Regions from separate parts of the Homo sapiens genome. Here all the other regions are linked to region 1. Evidence: promoter capture Hi-C in 16 types of primary human blood cells and fetal thymus (Javierre and others, 2016). All regions are on one chromosome and are shown on one strand. Each heading gives the region's core, a stretch centred on a gene start or on the middle of the fragment in contact. The rest is flanking DNA. Distances are from core to core; before and after follow the strand shown. Region 1 holds the start of PLS1 (plastin 1). Region 2 overlaps PCOLCE2 (procollagen C-endopeptidase enhancer 2). Region 3 overlaps TRPC1 (transient receptor potential cation channel subfamily C member 1).

Evidence for each region. The method cuts DNA at HindIII sites, captures the fragments that hold promoters and counts their contacts. A CHiCAGO score of 5 or more calls a contact.
Region 2: a contact is called between a fragment that was not itself captured here and the fragment with the promoter of PLS1 in region 1, in 4 of 17 cell types (M2 macrophages, M0 macrophages, endothelial precursors and 1 more). The highest score is 7.6, in M2 macrophages.
Region 3: a fragment that was not itself captured here is called in contact with the fragment with the promoter of PLS1 in region 1 in 1 of 17 cell types (megakaryocytes); the score reaches 5.0 in megakaryocytes.

The regions. Positions count from the first base shown.
Region 1 is chr3:142,593,953-142,598,824 of GRCh38, forward strand. PLS1 (plastin 1) reads left to right here and starts at 2,441. Exons shown (of 16, transcript NM_001145319.2): 1 at 2,441-2,557. It overlaps PLS1-AS1 (PLS1 antisense RNA 1), which reads right to left. Exons shown (of 4, transcript XR_001740938.2): 4 at 1,957-3,345. RefSeq lists an enhancer at 2,497-2,736. The HindIII fragment of the contact is 10,696 bases long and covers 1-3,930 here.
Region 2 is chr3:142,847,571-142,852,442 of GRCh38, forward strand. PCOLCE2 (procollagen C-endopeptidase enhancer 2) reads right to left here. Exons shown (of 9, transcript NM_013363.4): 3 at 647-902. Among named protein-coding and RNA genes, the nearest start is that of PCOLCE2, 39 kb to the right of the region's middle. The HindIII fragment of the contact is 582 bases long and covers 1,884-2,465 here.
Region 3 is chr3:142,786,156-142,791,027 of GRCh38, forward strand. It overlaps TRPC1 (transient receptor potential cation channel subfamily C member 1), which reads left to right. Exons shown (of 13, transcript NM_001251845.2): 8 at 4,864-4,872. Among named protein-coding and RNA genes, the nearest start is that of TRPC1, 65 kb to the left of the region's middle. The HindIII fragment of the contact is 1,622 bases long and covers 1,510-3,131 here.

The DNA of each region.
Region 1 (4,872 bases), core at 1,191-3,690:
CAATATGTAAGCAGTCTGGGTTAGGGTCCTTGATCCAGAGCCCTGCGTATTTTTCTCTCCATGAAACCCAGAGCTCCTGGAAACACAGTTTGAATACCTTATTTGTCATTGCTAGTGATACAATCAGTTAAGCAGGTAACAATTTTCTTTATATAATTATTACACGCTGGTTGTGCATTTCTTTTTTTTTTTTTTCTGAGACAGAGTCTCGCTCTGTCGCCCAGGTTAGAGTGTAGTGGCTTGATCTTGGCTCACTGCAACCTCTGCCTCCTGGGTTCAAGAGATTCTCCTGCCTCAACCACCTGAGTAGCTGGGATTACAGGCGCTTGCCACCACGACCGGCTAATTTTTGTATTTTTAGAAGAGACGGGGTTTCATCATGTTGCTCAGGCTGGTCTTGAACTCCTGACCTTAGGTGATCTGCCCACTTTGGCCTGCCAACGTGCTGGGATTACAGGCGTGAGCTACTGCACTGGGCCCTGGTTGTGCATTTCTAATGATATACTCTAGTTATTATTTTACACTTGGAAACAATTTTGGGAAACGGTTTTATCAATGGTATATTTACAAATCATATCTTAGGGTTGGCTGCTTTTACAGAGGGTTGTTACAGACATTTTATATGCATTATTTTTAGCTTCATTTACAGAGGATGACTTTTTATTTTACCTTTCCCAAATCAGGTTATACCATATTTAGAATCTACGTTTCCTCATGAACCTGCCCTGGTCAATATTACCACGAAAAAAAAACAGATCATAAGAGTATTTCATGAAAAAGTGTTCTCTTATCAAACTTATTGGTGAATAATTTACACACATTTTTCATGTTTAAAGTGTACAACTTAGCGATGACAGTTGTATACACCTGTGAACTTGTCACTACCATCAAAACAGAGAAAATTTCCATCGTCCCCCTCCAAAAATATTTTTTCTGCTCATTTGCAGTTTATCCTTCCCTCCACTCCTGGCTCCAGGCAATTACTAATCTGGGTTTTGTCATTATAGGTTAGTTTGTACTTCATATAAGTGGGATTATACAATATGTTTTGTCTCTAGCTTCTTCAACTCAGCATACCGATTTTGAGAGTTATCCATATTGAGTCCTGTGTGAGAGTATTTCTTCTTTTTTATTGTTGAGTAGTATTGCATTGTATAAATATACCACAATTTGTTTTTTCATTTACATGTTGTTGGACAGTTGGGTTCCTTCTGGTTTGGGGCTTTTGTGAAAAACAGCTGCTATGAGCATTCCTGTTCAAGTTTTTGTGTAAGCATATGTTTTAATTTCTCTTGGATAACATCTAGGAATGAAATGGCTGGGTCATATGTTAGATGTATGTTTACCTTTTAAGGAAATATTTTGCTTTATTTTGTGAGAACTTACTTAACTCCCCTTGCATATCTAGATAAATAAGTATCAGATAAGGATACTAAATTTACCAGATTCTCTAGGTGGCAGGTGGGAAAAATCAGATAAGAATACTAAATTCACCTGATTCTCTAGGTGGCAGGTGGGAAAAATTCCTTATCTTCCCTCTCCATGGCCCACCTACTTTCATAGTTCATTGCTCGTCCAATTTGTTTGAGTTCTTAAAATAATTTCAACTTCCCCCCTTTATTTTTTCTATTGTTACCATCTCAGGGTTGGTTGGGTGCCTATTCTGTATTGGATATTGTGTTAGGCGCAGAAGGGGCACGTGGGACTTTGAGTTAAAGGGGCAGCAAAACCTTGTTCTGTTCTCTGGACTGAGTTGGACAGACCACAACTACGGATTATGCTTCAGGCAAAGTATGTGAGAACTCTTGAGGCAGCATTCCATTTACCTGACTCACATGCGAGAGAAAATATCCCACTTTTGTTTGAGTGTGGGCTTTAGTTATATATTTATTTTAATCAGGTGTGGCTGTTAAAGGAAAAGGAAGCAATCCGTGAAACAAACGGAAAAAAAAAGAGTAGGGGAGAGAAACAAGTCTTCCTTTAATAACGTATACCTTTCCTTTTGACCAGCAGGTCCCAAAGTGTGGTACCCAGACTAGTAGCACCAGTTTTCGCTGAGAACATGTTAGAAATGGGAACTGTCGCGCTACGCTCCAGACCTAACTGAATCGGAAACTCAGTTTCCGGGTTTGGGATCTGTGATTTAAAAAGCTCTCCAGGTGATTCTGATCCACGCTCAAGTTTGAGAACTGCTGTGCTAAACTCATTCCCAGGGTGTAGGTGGTCATCTTTAGACTTGGGTAACTGTGGGCGGTAGAGATAACGTTGCCGCAGCGCCCGTCCACCTCTCCCCATCCACGCTCCCAGCGCCTGCAACTCCTCTTTCACCCTTAGCCTAAACCCAGGTTCTGGGCTTCCCTTTCCCTCCCCTGGGAGCCGCAGGCAAAACGCGGCAAGTGGATTCAGAGTTTGCGGGCCCGGGTGCCGGCCGAGCATGCGCAGTGGCGCGAGCGCAGCGGCTACGCGGGCGCGGAGAGGTAGCCGCAGAGTGGACCTGCAGGTACTTGGATCTCCAGTGGGAGCTGCCCTCTCGAAGGCAGGACAGCGGTGGCGGCAGGTACGCGGGGGTGGGGATAGGGCCCAAAAGGAAGGCTGGACAGACAGATGGAAAGCGAAGCGTTACTCCTTTGGGGGCGCGCGGCGGCTCGGGGGCAGTATCTCCGGGTCCCCTCGCTCGCGTCTCGTCTCCTGGCTGTGCAGTGTGGCGCCCGCCGTCCTCTGGGCACGCTTCTGCCCAGTCCCGGCAGGCAGTGCCCGCAGGTGTTAAATCGCGTATTTACACTGCTTAAACAATAAGCCTGTTAACTGAATTGTGATTCTATGCAATGAAATAAGGTATTTCATTAAGTTTTCTTCTTTCAACTTTGGGTGGCTGCCGGTGAGGCTTTCTGAACCAGCCTGTTTTGTTTTAATTCTGGGACTGGTTTATTTGCCTTTGGCCTTTTGGTGCATAGGATCAATAGGGCTGTAGTGAAATCCCATCCGTGCTGTTTTTGGTACCTTTCCTGGAGCATAGGGACCTCTGGATGCGGCATAAAAATGTCAGTTTTCAGCGAATTTCACTGCCAAAAAACTTTCCGTGTTTCAGCTGCATTTTCAAGTGGAGACTTAAAAAAATTTAAGATTTCTCCCTAACTTTTCAATTATTACTGTATTTCGGTCTTCATTTGGTACTATTAAAAGGAAGCGGTCGTTTAGATGAGTAACAGAATTCTCACTTTTCCTCCTTTACTTACTTACTATGTCACATTTTATGGCTTATACCGTGATATCTTTCCCTCCAGCCACGGTGTTGGATACACTTGTATGAGGCTTCAGCTGTGCTGCATAAATTTCTTGAAGAACCTGTGAGCCAGAAGCAAAATTTCAGGACAGGGGGCACACACTGAACTTGAAGCAAGTACTTTTACACCCCCCACCACCTTTGTAATCAGCTTTCCTTTAAGTTGAATTATGTAATGAAATTCTATAGTAAAGTGTTAATGTGTAATGTGGAGGCATATATATATATAGAGAGAGAGGTAGTAAGTTTAGGAAGAGGAAATTTTAAGTTCAGGAAGAGAAACCTATATGGAAAGGGAATACAGGTATCCTGCCCCCCTTCATTCCTCCCATGATAAATGTTTTAATGGCAGAAATAATATACAGCTGGTCTAGTTTTGGCTGTAGAGACCTTTGAGGTCAGCCAGTTCAGCTGCTTCAGTTTACAAATGAGAAAACTGAGACCAGCGAGGTTAGATGACTTGCTGTGGCCACCCAAGCCCCTCATTGGCAAAGCTAGGCCTGGGATCCAGGTTTTCTCATTTTCTGGGGTCTTTTTACCACTCCCTGCAGATACTCTTCTTTACCTCCATTATTAAACTTCCTTTTTCTCTTCTACTTATACCATGAAGTCTGGCTTAAGCAGAAAATTAGTTGTTTCTCTTACTAAGCTTCCTAGTACCTCATAAATTCCTTTCAAAAAGTGCCCTTTCACTGAAGCCCCACCTAACAATTTGCTGGTCCTGAAAACGCCCTCCTTCCTTCCCTCAGTCACCTGGGCCCTTTGCCCAAAATGCCTGTTTGCCTCCCTCTTTCCGTATTGAAGTCCTGCTCATGCTGCAAGGTGTAGCTCAGGTGTGACCTCTTTTTGGAAGCCTTCCTTGATTGCCTTAGCATGAAGTAGCTCTCCCTCTTCTGAACCCTATAGCACTTACTACTGTTGTTTGTGCTGTTAGTATCCCCATTGTATATAGTATCCTGAGTATTTTAGCACCTCCCAACTTCCCGACCAGGAAGTTGGCAGGTTGTGTAAGCTCTTGGAGGTTAAAGCCTATGACTTAAACATCCCACCCAGCACTAAGCACAAAGTATATTCTTAGCCCCTGTTTGTGGGAGGGAGTGGGGGAAGGAAGTGCAGTATGTATAGTTTTGTAAAGAGATTTCATGTGTGTTCTATAATATGGGGAAGGCCATGTTAGAGCTGTATCAAGACAGCAGCCAAGTCCATTTCTGATTCCTCATATTTTGATAACAGATCACAGATTAGTTAGGGGGATTACAGGAGACAGGCGTAAAAACACGGGTCAGTTGGTCCAGGCCCTGGATTAAGCCTGTGACTCAAAGTGGAGAAAAGAGGGCACAGAATTAAGAAATGTAAAGGAAGAAGCATGTGGTGAAAGACTAAATGCAGAGAAGGAAAGACATGTTGAAAATGAATTTCAGGGTTGGGGTGTTAGTAATGGGTTTATAATGTTCTTTTTATCTTAAAAGTACCTCCAATTGGCTGGGTGTGGTGGCTCACGCCTGTAATCCCAGCACTTTGGGAGGCCGAGGTGGGTGGATCACAAGGTCAGGAGATTGAGACCATCCTGGCTAACACGGTGAAACCCC
Region 2 (4,872 bases), core at 925-3,424, 250 kb after region 1:
ACAACACCCAGGCTGCAGCACAGTGGCATGATCACGGTCACTGCAGCAGTGACCTCCCTGGGCTCAGGTGATTCTCCTACCTCAGCCTCCCAAGTAGCTGGGACAACAGGTGTGTGCCACCACACCCAGATAATTTTTGTATTTTTTGTAGAGATGGGGTTTCACCATTTTGCCCAGGCTGGTCTTGAATTTCTGAGCTCAAGAGATCCACCTGCCCTTGGTCCCCCAGTGTTGGGATTACAGGCATGAGCCACCATGCCTGGGCTCCACTTTTATTTTTTAAAAGCTATTGTATAAGTACTCAAATAAAAGCAAGCACACATAGAAAGGTATGGGAACCACTGGCCATGGCTATTTCTGGAGAATGGACTATGGAGTGGTGAAGGGGTGTGTTTGCATATTTGCATGTGTGCTTATGTATGTAAGCTCCACATTTTTACTCTATGAATTTCTATACTTGATTTACAAGAATGCATGTGGACTTAAATTAAAAGGCTGATTTTTTGTATTGGTCTCATCATGGTTTGATGGCATTCACTAGCTCTTTGAGAACCACTCTTAAGCTTTAAAGGAGTAAATAAACATCAAGTGCCAAGAACAGTGAACCAACATTACTGTTGTTATTGCCATTATGTGGAAACAGTACCTCTTTCGTTTGGTTCAGCAGCGGAGAACATGGCCATGAAGCCATTGCCAGCTGTGTTGGCATCAGAAATCATCTGCACCATCATCTTGTTGCCACTGGACACAAGGGCTCCAGGCCGGAAAGTGCCACAGAAGCGGCCAATGCGCTGGCCATTGGCATGGCCATTGTACACATCCACAAAGTCATAGCGGCACAGGTTGTCACTCTCGAGGTCTATGAATCGGAAATTGAGAACGACTACTTTTCCTTCGGGAACCTGCCAAGAAAAGCGCCAATTAGAAAACTGTCATGAAAACAATATCTGAGGCTTTGACATCTAGTCACTTACTTAAGTGTGTAAAGTATAATATCCAAGATAATGCTTTTTCCTCTCTCATATCTGAACTAACCCAAGGGAAGTTTTCTAGCATATTGCATTCCTAAAAAATTTAAGTACTTATTTTCTTTTGACAAATTCTGCAATTCTCCAGGATTCACAATCTTATTCCTTAAGAACTTACCTCAACAAAGCTGCAAAATATTAGGTCAGTATTATTAATAGATGAGTCATTGCTTAGAATGAATACCAGTCCTGATTGGACCTTAGCATATATTTGCATATTCTAATACCTAGAGATATTGCTTAGCAAAGAAACATTTAAAAATATCATTTCTTGGCCAGGCACAGTGGCTCACATCTGTAATCCCAGCACTTTGGGAGGCCGAGGTGGGCGGATCACAAGGTCAGGAGATCGAGACCATCCTGGCTAACACAGTGAAACCCCGTCTCTACTAAAAATACAAAAGATTAGCCGGGTGTGGTGGGGGGCGCCTGTAGTCCCAGCTACTCGGGAGGCTGAGGCAGGAGAATGGCGTGAACCCGGGAGGCGGAGCTTGCAGTGAGCCGAGATCGCGCCACTGCACTCCAGCCTGGGTGACAGAGCGAGACTCCACCTCAAAAAAAAAAAAATCATTTCTTACAAATAATACAGTAGGACGCATTCAATGCCTGTGTATAGAATGTTTCTATGAAGTTCAAAATAGAGGATTTATTTGGCAATTGTGTAGTTAATTTACAGATAATTCATTTTGGGTCCTGAAACATCCAGATGAACTACCGATACTGACTAAATGAACTGAGTAATTGCTGAATCATCTCTTCTGAATGTCACTAAGTTTTTTGCTCATTTGTTTTCCAGGTGAAGACTTTATATGTCAGGAAGCCTTGAGACACAATGCGCTAATGAAGAAAAAGATAAGCTTTCATTTTATCATAATATTTTATTCATCATAATTTCCCCATAAAATTCTTAATGATGGTTCCTTCCTTATTCCCTGAGTAGGTAGAAAAAATGGCTATAAAAGCATTTGGTAGGATTCTCAGGTTACCAAAGCCCCATTTCTTTCCCAGTTCATACCACCTTTTAATTTCTTCATTCAAGTTGTTCAGTCATAAAGTCTTGATCATAATTGTTTTACTCCTTTAATCAGATGAGGTCTCCACTGAATAGTGGAGAATTCCATTCTGTAAAAACTTACATATAACAAAACTCAGTGATTAAAAAAATCAAACACACACAATCAAAAGTGGTTGGTTTATATTCATCTTAATTAACTATTTCAGACTCAAGGGTCAATAGATGCTTTGACATTAATACGGCTTCCCCATGTTGGTAAGTACAGTGCCATACGTTTTATTTTCCTATGGTAAGATGAAGTGTTTTCAGTGCTATTTGCTTTTTGTGTCAAACACATCTACACTTCATCGTAGAAATTATAATGGCGTAGTTCCCAAAAGGGACATGTTTGGATTTGCCATCGTTGCATTCTAATTCCTAGAAGCTTGTCTCAGTGGTGTGAATATCAGAGTTCCAAAGAACTTAGAACAGCTTAAGAAGCTAATAACAGAAAGAACAATTTAAATTTTAAACATTATCACCAAGATGTCTGTTGTAAAACTTCCTGTCTTTTGCTTTGTTTTTTGTTTTGCACACAACCTCTATTTGTACAATAATCAGAAAGTTATCAAAATATGATGCCACATCTGTAATCTTAAATATAAGCAGGCTCTCTATGAATCACCGAAAAAGTCCTAGCCATGAAAAGAATCTCAAACTAATTTGTTTTTTTCCTGCATGAATAGTGACTATTTGTATAAATGTATAGAGGGTAATTCAAAGCTACGAAACTTGATGAAGTCACTCCCAGAGTGAATGTGGATAGAAAAAGGAAGAGGTCTAAGTATAGAGGCCTGGAACACTCCAATGTCATCAAGTCTGTGAAGAGGTCAAACCACAATAGAGACTGAGTCAACAAGTAGGAGGCAACCAAAGTGTGTGGCGTCTGGAAGCCAGGCGAAGAGAGTATGTCAAGGAGGAATGAATGGGCAACTGAGTTAAGTGCTGCTGCTGAGAAAGACCAGTGGATTTAGCAACACAGAAGTTTAGCAACCAGAAGTCACTGGTAATGCTGACAAAGCTGTTCTGGTGGCACCATGGGGAGAAAACTGGATAAAAGGATCATGAGAAAATGGGGTGAGAGGAAATGGTGACAATAAATATAAACAAGCTTTTCAAGGAGTTTTGCTGTGAAGATGAACAGAATAATATGGGGGTAAGGAAGGGGATATGGGGTCTAAGCAGAGTTTTTGCAATGGGTGTTTCCTAAGGCATGTTTGCATGCTGATGGGAAGGATTCTGTAGAGAGGGCAAAACTGATGAAGCAAGAGAGAGGGAGGATTGCTTAACAGATGTCCTTGAGCAGGCAAAGGGGGATCTGATCTACAGAAGGAACAGCTGGTGGAGTTGGCCTTAGTAGGAGCAGGGACAGTTTTGCCCAATGACAGAAGGGAAGACAGATGTAGGTAGGTCAGTAAATGAGGTGGTGAAAGCATATATAGAATTTTTTTTCTGGATTGCTTTTCTTAGTAAAATAGAAAACAAGGTCATCAGCAGCAAATGTGGAAGAGAGAGGCACTACTGGGAATCTGATAACAGAAGAGAAAGTGAGGAAATGGATTAATGAAATGCAGCAGGAGTACCAGGACTGCTGGGGTCCACTTGAAGTAAATGAATTAAAATTAAGACCTCTCTGCATGGTGGCGATATTTGTTTTTGTTTGTTCGTGGTCTTCTTCCCCAGCCACATTCAGCTCCGTGGGCAAAGGTACAGGGCAGGTGGAGAGTTGGATATAAGCAGTAGGGGAGAGTGGTGAGGTTTGCCAAGGGAGGATATGGCAGGAGAGAAGGACAAGAGAGTTGAAGACATAGGCAAGGGAGTGACCATGATGATGTGCTGTGGAATCCAAACTGGGTTAGGATGGAAATCAGGACGCTGTGGGGTGAGGACAGTAACAACCAAGACTGTGGTGGAGTAAGGACAAAATAACAGTGGAAGTGGGAGGCTGAGGAACTATGGAGGATAAGTTATTTGGCGGAGAAGAGGTTAAAGACCTGAGAAGATCACCCATATAGATATTGAAATTACAGTTGATTAGGACAAGGAAGAGTGTTGAAGACAGTGACAGTGAACCAGGAGTTAAAATTTGCAAGAAGCGAGGAAGACTGTCCAGGAGGCTTTTAGATTATTTCATCAAGGAGAGGAATAGGGAGGTATAATCATGTTTCATTGGCAGGTTCTTGGTTCTCTGACACTACGTAGACAATTCTGTTGACTCTCTCCTGTAGAGAGGTGTTGAAATTAACTACAGGACTTGGATGCTCATTCCCAATAAAATAAATCATTTGTTCCCAAAAGTTTTGTACCTGTTCCCATGGCAATGAAAATTTGAGAATGAGACACAAATATGATCAGCAATAGAAACTGGGTTACATCATTGCAATTTTGAACACATGCTGACCCGAACAACCCCGACAAAGCTTCTTTTGAAAGAAGGATGCAGAGGTGATCTGTACCAGTGTAAGTCTCCTATAACCAGAGACAAATGTCATCTTGCACTGAAGGCCAGAGAGAAATTCTATTGCAAATGAGAAGCATACTGCTGTGAGCCTTTTCAGTATGACACAACATCCGTTCTTCATTTTTTATATGAGTGATCAAGATTGTCTGATGCCCTCTGATGCAAGCTTTGATAAGAGCTCCTGATTGTCATTATAAAGGACTTTAGAGAGCATATTCTCCGAAGATGGCCTTTCCACTTGGAGAATCTAGTCTGTATCCTTGAATTTTCTTTGTTAAGAATAGAAAAAAAATAAAAAAATAAAAAATACAGAAAGATACACAGAATAA
Region 3 (4,872 bases), core at 1,071-3,570, 190 kb after region 1:
TTTTAACCTCAGCACTTCCCATCTGTCCGTCTACTATTTGCTATAGAGTAAAAGGGTAATAAAATTTAGTCTTATCTATGGCACAAAGTACTGAGTGTATTTATCTTTTGATTACTACATTCCTGATTGTTTCAATTATTTAGTACTTTCATAAGTTATTTCACAATGTTCAATTTTAGCTCTTTAGCTATACAAATACTTTTTATATTTTAGAATGTTTATTTGAAAATCAGTTAATTTCAGGTAACTAGATTGTAATTAGAGTTTTGCTTTTAACAGTATTTAATCTATGATGCATTAATGTTTAAAATTAGGTAGATAAAATAATACACATCTAAACTCTAGGTTAAAGAGAATTAAATAATTCCTTCTTGTTAATATTTTTATTTCCTGTAGTTTTGCTCTTATCTAAAATTTAATCTTTTAATTTAGGAAATAATTTAAACTTTACCATATATGGTTTTATATTGGACTGTGGGACTCTTTCAATGTGAAATATGTTTGTATTGCTAGTTGAGTAGTTAAAAAATTCCTGGAAGAATTTTACACATTAGTTTGAAGAGAATCGCTAAGGAGCACTTTCCCTATATTCATTTAAACTATTTCTGATTGTTATATATTCCTTAGTCTTAAACAGATGAAATTTTATAACATTTATCTATAACCTATTGTTTAGTAGTAAGAAAGAATATTTTCTGTGTTTTGTTAGATTTAGTTTACCCCAGTCTGTATAAGAATCAAATTAAAGTTTATATGTCTTAGCAATGAGTAAAAACTCACCGAACTAAAATAGTCATACCACTCTTTGAATAGCATAAATATTACTGCTGTCCCCGATTTTCATAATAATGGTAAAACTATAGCTCTTCCCTTTTATATGATGCTGTTTTCAATGATATTACACGTATATATACATGGGTACCCCCTTACACACATAATATGATTAATTTTCTAACCATATTCTACCTCACTAGAAGAATGCATGTGCATTAAGCCAGTAAAATTCCTGGAAGTATCTTCCTTTCCTCAGCACAGCTTCTGCTTTGAAACAGTTTGATCTGAATAAGCCTTGCCAAGGAAGTCTTCTTAAGCCTTTTATGTAATTAGGTCACTCTGGGCTTTTTTTCAGTATATAGATCCAAACCGGCTCTAAGTGAGCATGGAGGAATATTTTGCTTGCTTGCCTAAATAAAGTCATTGCTTGGTTCAACTTACTATTTCAAGCAATGAACACAGTGACTTTTTAACTCATCATGACCAATTTTTGTATATTTGTTTTGTTTGCTTTCATTAGCTTTTCAGAAAAAAGTAAGGTTAGGTTATAAAAAGCAAGGTAGGTAAAAAGAGAATAATTTGTTGAGGAATGCACAGAATATTAATGGTATCCTTTTACTTAATTTTTGCTATTAAACATAATAGAATGGCTATTATAGAAATGTATTTTTTAAATGTCATGTACCTACTTTGTCTAAGCACAGGCAAAAGCAGATATGGCCCATACACTCGTGAAGCTTATGATCTAATAAAAGCCAAATAAAACCATCAAAAACTTGACTTGAGAATCATATGGAAAAATGAAAACTCAAAAATGGATTAAGTGCTATTGGTTAAAGATCATAGTGTTAGGAGAGTAAGCATATTATAGGGGCATTTGCCCTAGTCAGGGAGGTTGGGAAAGACACGTTGAGGAAGTAATAAGTGAGCTAAGATCTAAAAGATAAATAGATGTCAACTGAGAGAACTGGGAGAGGAAGCTACTCTAGGCTGAGATAAAAGCACATTCAGAAGCTCAGTGGCAAGAGAGAGAATGGTACAAAGAAGGGTCTGAGTAAAGGCTAACATTTCTGGAGCAGGGAGAACCAGGAGAGCTTGATTCAAGATGAAGCTACAGAAACATATTGTACCAGACCATGCATGGCCTTGTAGGTCAGGTTAAGTAATTTTGACTTTATATTAAGAACAAGGGGAAACCATTGCCTACCTGAAGTAGGCAAGTGACATGATCAGTTTTGCCTTTCGAAAAGATCATTCTATCTACAGGGTGGAGGATGAGCTGGGAGGATAGTGCTGTGGCAGGAGTAGATGGAGGGAGACCAATATCGATGCTGTTGCACTAATCCAGATGAGAGCTGATGGCACCTTGGACTTAGGGTGATTGTGATAGAGAAAGAGAGAAGGGAACAGACTTCAGAGATATTTATAATGTAAGGCCAGTAGGACATCGAAATACATAGTATATGAGAGGTGAAGGAAAGGGAGATTATTAAGCAATATTGGTCTTTTGGAAGAGTACTAGGCTTGGGGATTTGTGTGTTGAGGGGTAGATCCTGAGTACAGTTTCGGATATGTTGAGTTTGAAAAGCCTTTGAGATATTTTTTAAATATCCCTTTTAGGGATGTCAAGCAGACAGTTGGTCTGGAGCTTGAGTTAGAAAGGTATGCATATCTGAAAATAGGTGGTATATGAAACTATAGGCATAGGTGAGACACAAGGAGAAAGATAAATTGAGAAAAAGAGAGGACCTAAGATCAAGCCCTTGAGAAATCCCAAGATGGCTGGGATTGCTGCCTTCTAATGTTATTATTAACATTAATTCTAAAAAAAATAGACCCTAAAATATAGAATGTTGGTTATGTAGTGTTTGTATTGCTTGGATTAGTTTCAACTTACTATGTTCTTTGTGATCCAGCTTGGAAACATGCAATACATCAAGTGTATTAGCTTCATTTTTGTGGGGGTATTGCAGAGGAGCTGGGAAACTAACCAATTGGTCTTCACTGTACTTTCATGTCTGTCTTTTTTGATCAACAGTTTTCTCCAATTCATGTTGTAAGTTTTTGTTAAGAGTTTCTTTTAGGTAAAATATTGCATTTCACAGAAATAAACACATTTCTGTAAACATCTTTCTTAGTTTGATGTTTTAAATATTAACAGGAGTGTATCTAAAGTTTAAATATAAGGGTTTTTGTTTGAAGATGTTTCATAAATAAGGATTCGCACACATCAGGATCTAGAATTAGACAATAATTTTGAGTCTTCAAGAAAGTATGGTCATGGAGGATTTGTTTAATATGTTTCTGCTCCACAGCTCTGAGTGGTAGGTGAAGGTTGAACATGAGAAATATCAGAAAGCTTTCATCCCTACTCCTTCCCCAAATAAAACAGTATTTGAGTTAATAAAATGTTACCTGCTAGACTATTTCATTTTACATTTTTAGACAGTTTTCATCTATTCATTTTGAGTAAAAACATACTAAGGTGGAATTGTTAAAAATGTTTTTCCTGTCAAATCTGCAAATGTTTTAAACACTTTTTTTCTGTATAAAATATGGGTACTGCATAATTAAGATGTTTTGAACAGAGATCTTCAAGAATGTTTCTTGTGTTTCCCAGGGGAATTATTTTGCCTACTGATAAGCCAGAGAATGATTCTGATTGGCCTAATTTGATCTCCACCCATGTGTGATGCTACAGCACTCTATTCTTTTGTTACTCTGTAGTCTCCCCGAAAATGACTTAATGAAGGAATGTACCATAAAATGATCCTGAATTATGTTACTGAAGTCTGGTACCCATAAAAATATATAGTTATAGAGGAGCTTCTGGCCAAAAAACGGAAAGTTTTTCTGTTTGTTTGCTTTGGTTTTTATTTTTGTATATTTATTCATTTGGCAATATTTTTTAGCACCTTGTTTGTATCAGGTACTTTTCAGGACATTTGGAAACATCGGTAAATAAAACAAAGATTCTTACCCTTGAAGAGCTTACCCAAAGTGGGGGAAAGATAATCAATTAATAATAGACCTAATAAGTAAATTATATTCAGTGTTAGAAAAGAGATAAGTAATACAAAAGAAAGGTAAAAGCAGAGTTAGGAGAATTGGGAGTGGGGGACAATTTTAAAGTTGCAAAGAGTTTGCAATTTTAAATAGGGTAGTCAGGAAGGGTGATGAGCAAAGACATGAAAAAGTGAGGTAGTTAGTCAAATGGATCTCTGGGTGAGGAGGGTCCAGCCAGAAGGAAGAGCCAGTATAAAGGCCCTAAAGGCAGGAGTCATGTGTTCAAAGAACAGCAAGGAAGCAAGGAGGCCAGCGCGACTAGAATAGTACAAGGAAAGATTAGTAGGAGATGAGGTCAGAGAGGATAGGTAATTTGGAGACTTGCAGGCCATTGTAAAGACTGGTTTTGATTCTGAGTAAAATGGGATTTAAGGGAGGGTGCAGTGCCCACTATGCACAATGAGCAGCAGTGGTTTTGCATTTTTTTGACATTTGCACTCACAGAACAAAACAGGCTGAAACCTGGTACTAGGTTTACTTAAATTTGTAGAAGTAAAAGATTTGAACTTAAATATATAAACTTGAGAGCCTTTGCCATGTAGATGATATTTAAAGCCATTAGATTGGGTGAGATCATTAAAGTAGTAAGTATAGGTAGAGAAAAGAAAAGGATCAGGGACTGAGCCCCTTGTGCGGGGGTGTGTACGTGTGTGCGTGCACATCCATGTGTGTATCCGTGTGTGTCTCCGTGTATGTTTGTATCCCTGTGTATGCATCCATGTGCATGCATCCGTGTGTGTGTGTTTGTGCCCATGTGTGTTTGGCATTAATTTATTTGGTTTCTTACGTTTGTTCCACATCCAAAGATGAAACTTAAGGTTATTTTCTTCAAGTCGTATGAAAGTTAAGGTTATTTTCTTTCAGATTTTAAGAACTTTTCACTAAAATGTTTTTGGTTTTGTTTTTTTTTCTTTTGAATAAGGCCCAAGGATTATTTATTTAATATTTTGAGTCTTAAAGTATTATTTAGTTTATTTATTGAATTAAGAAAGTGTTATCTGATTTTTTTCTTCCTTTTCTCAGGGATGATTT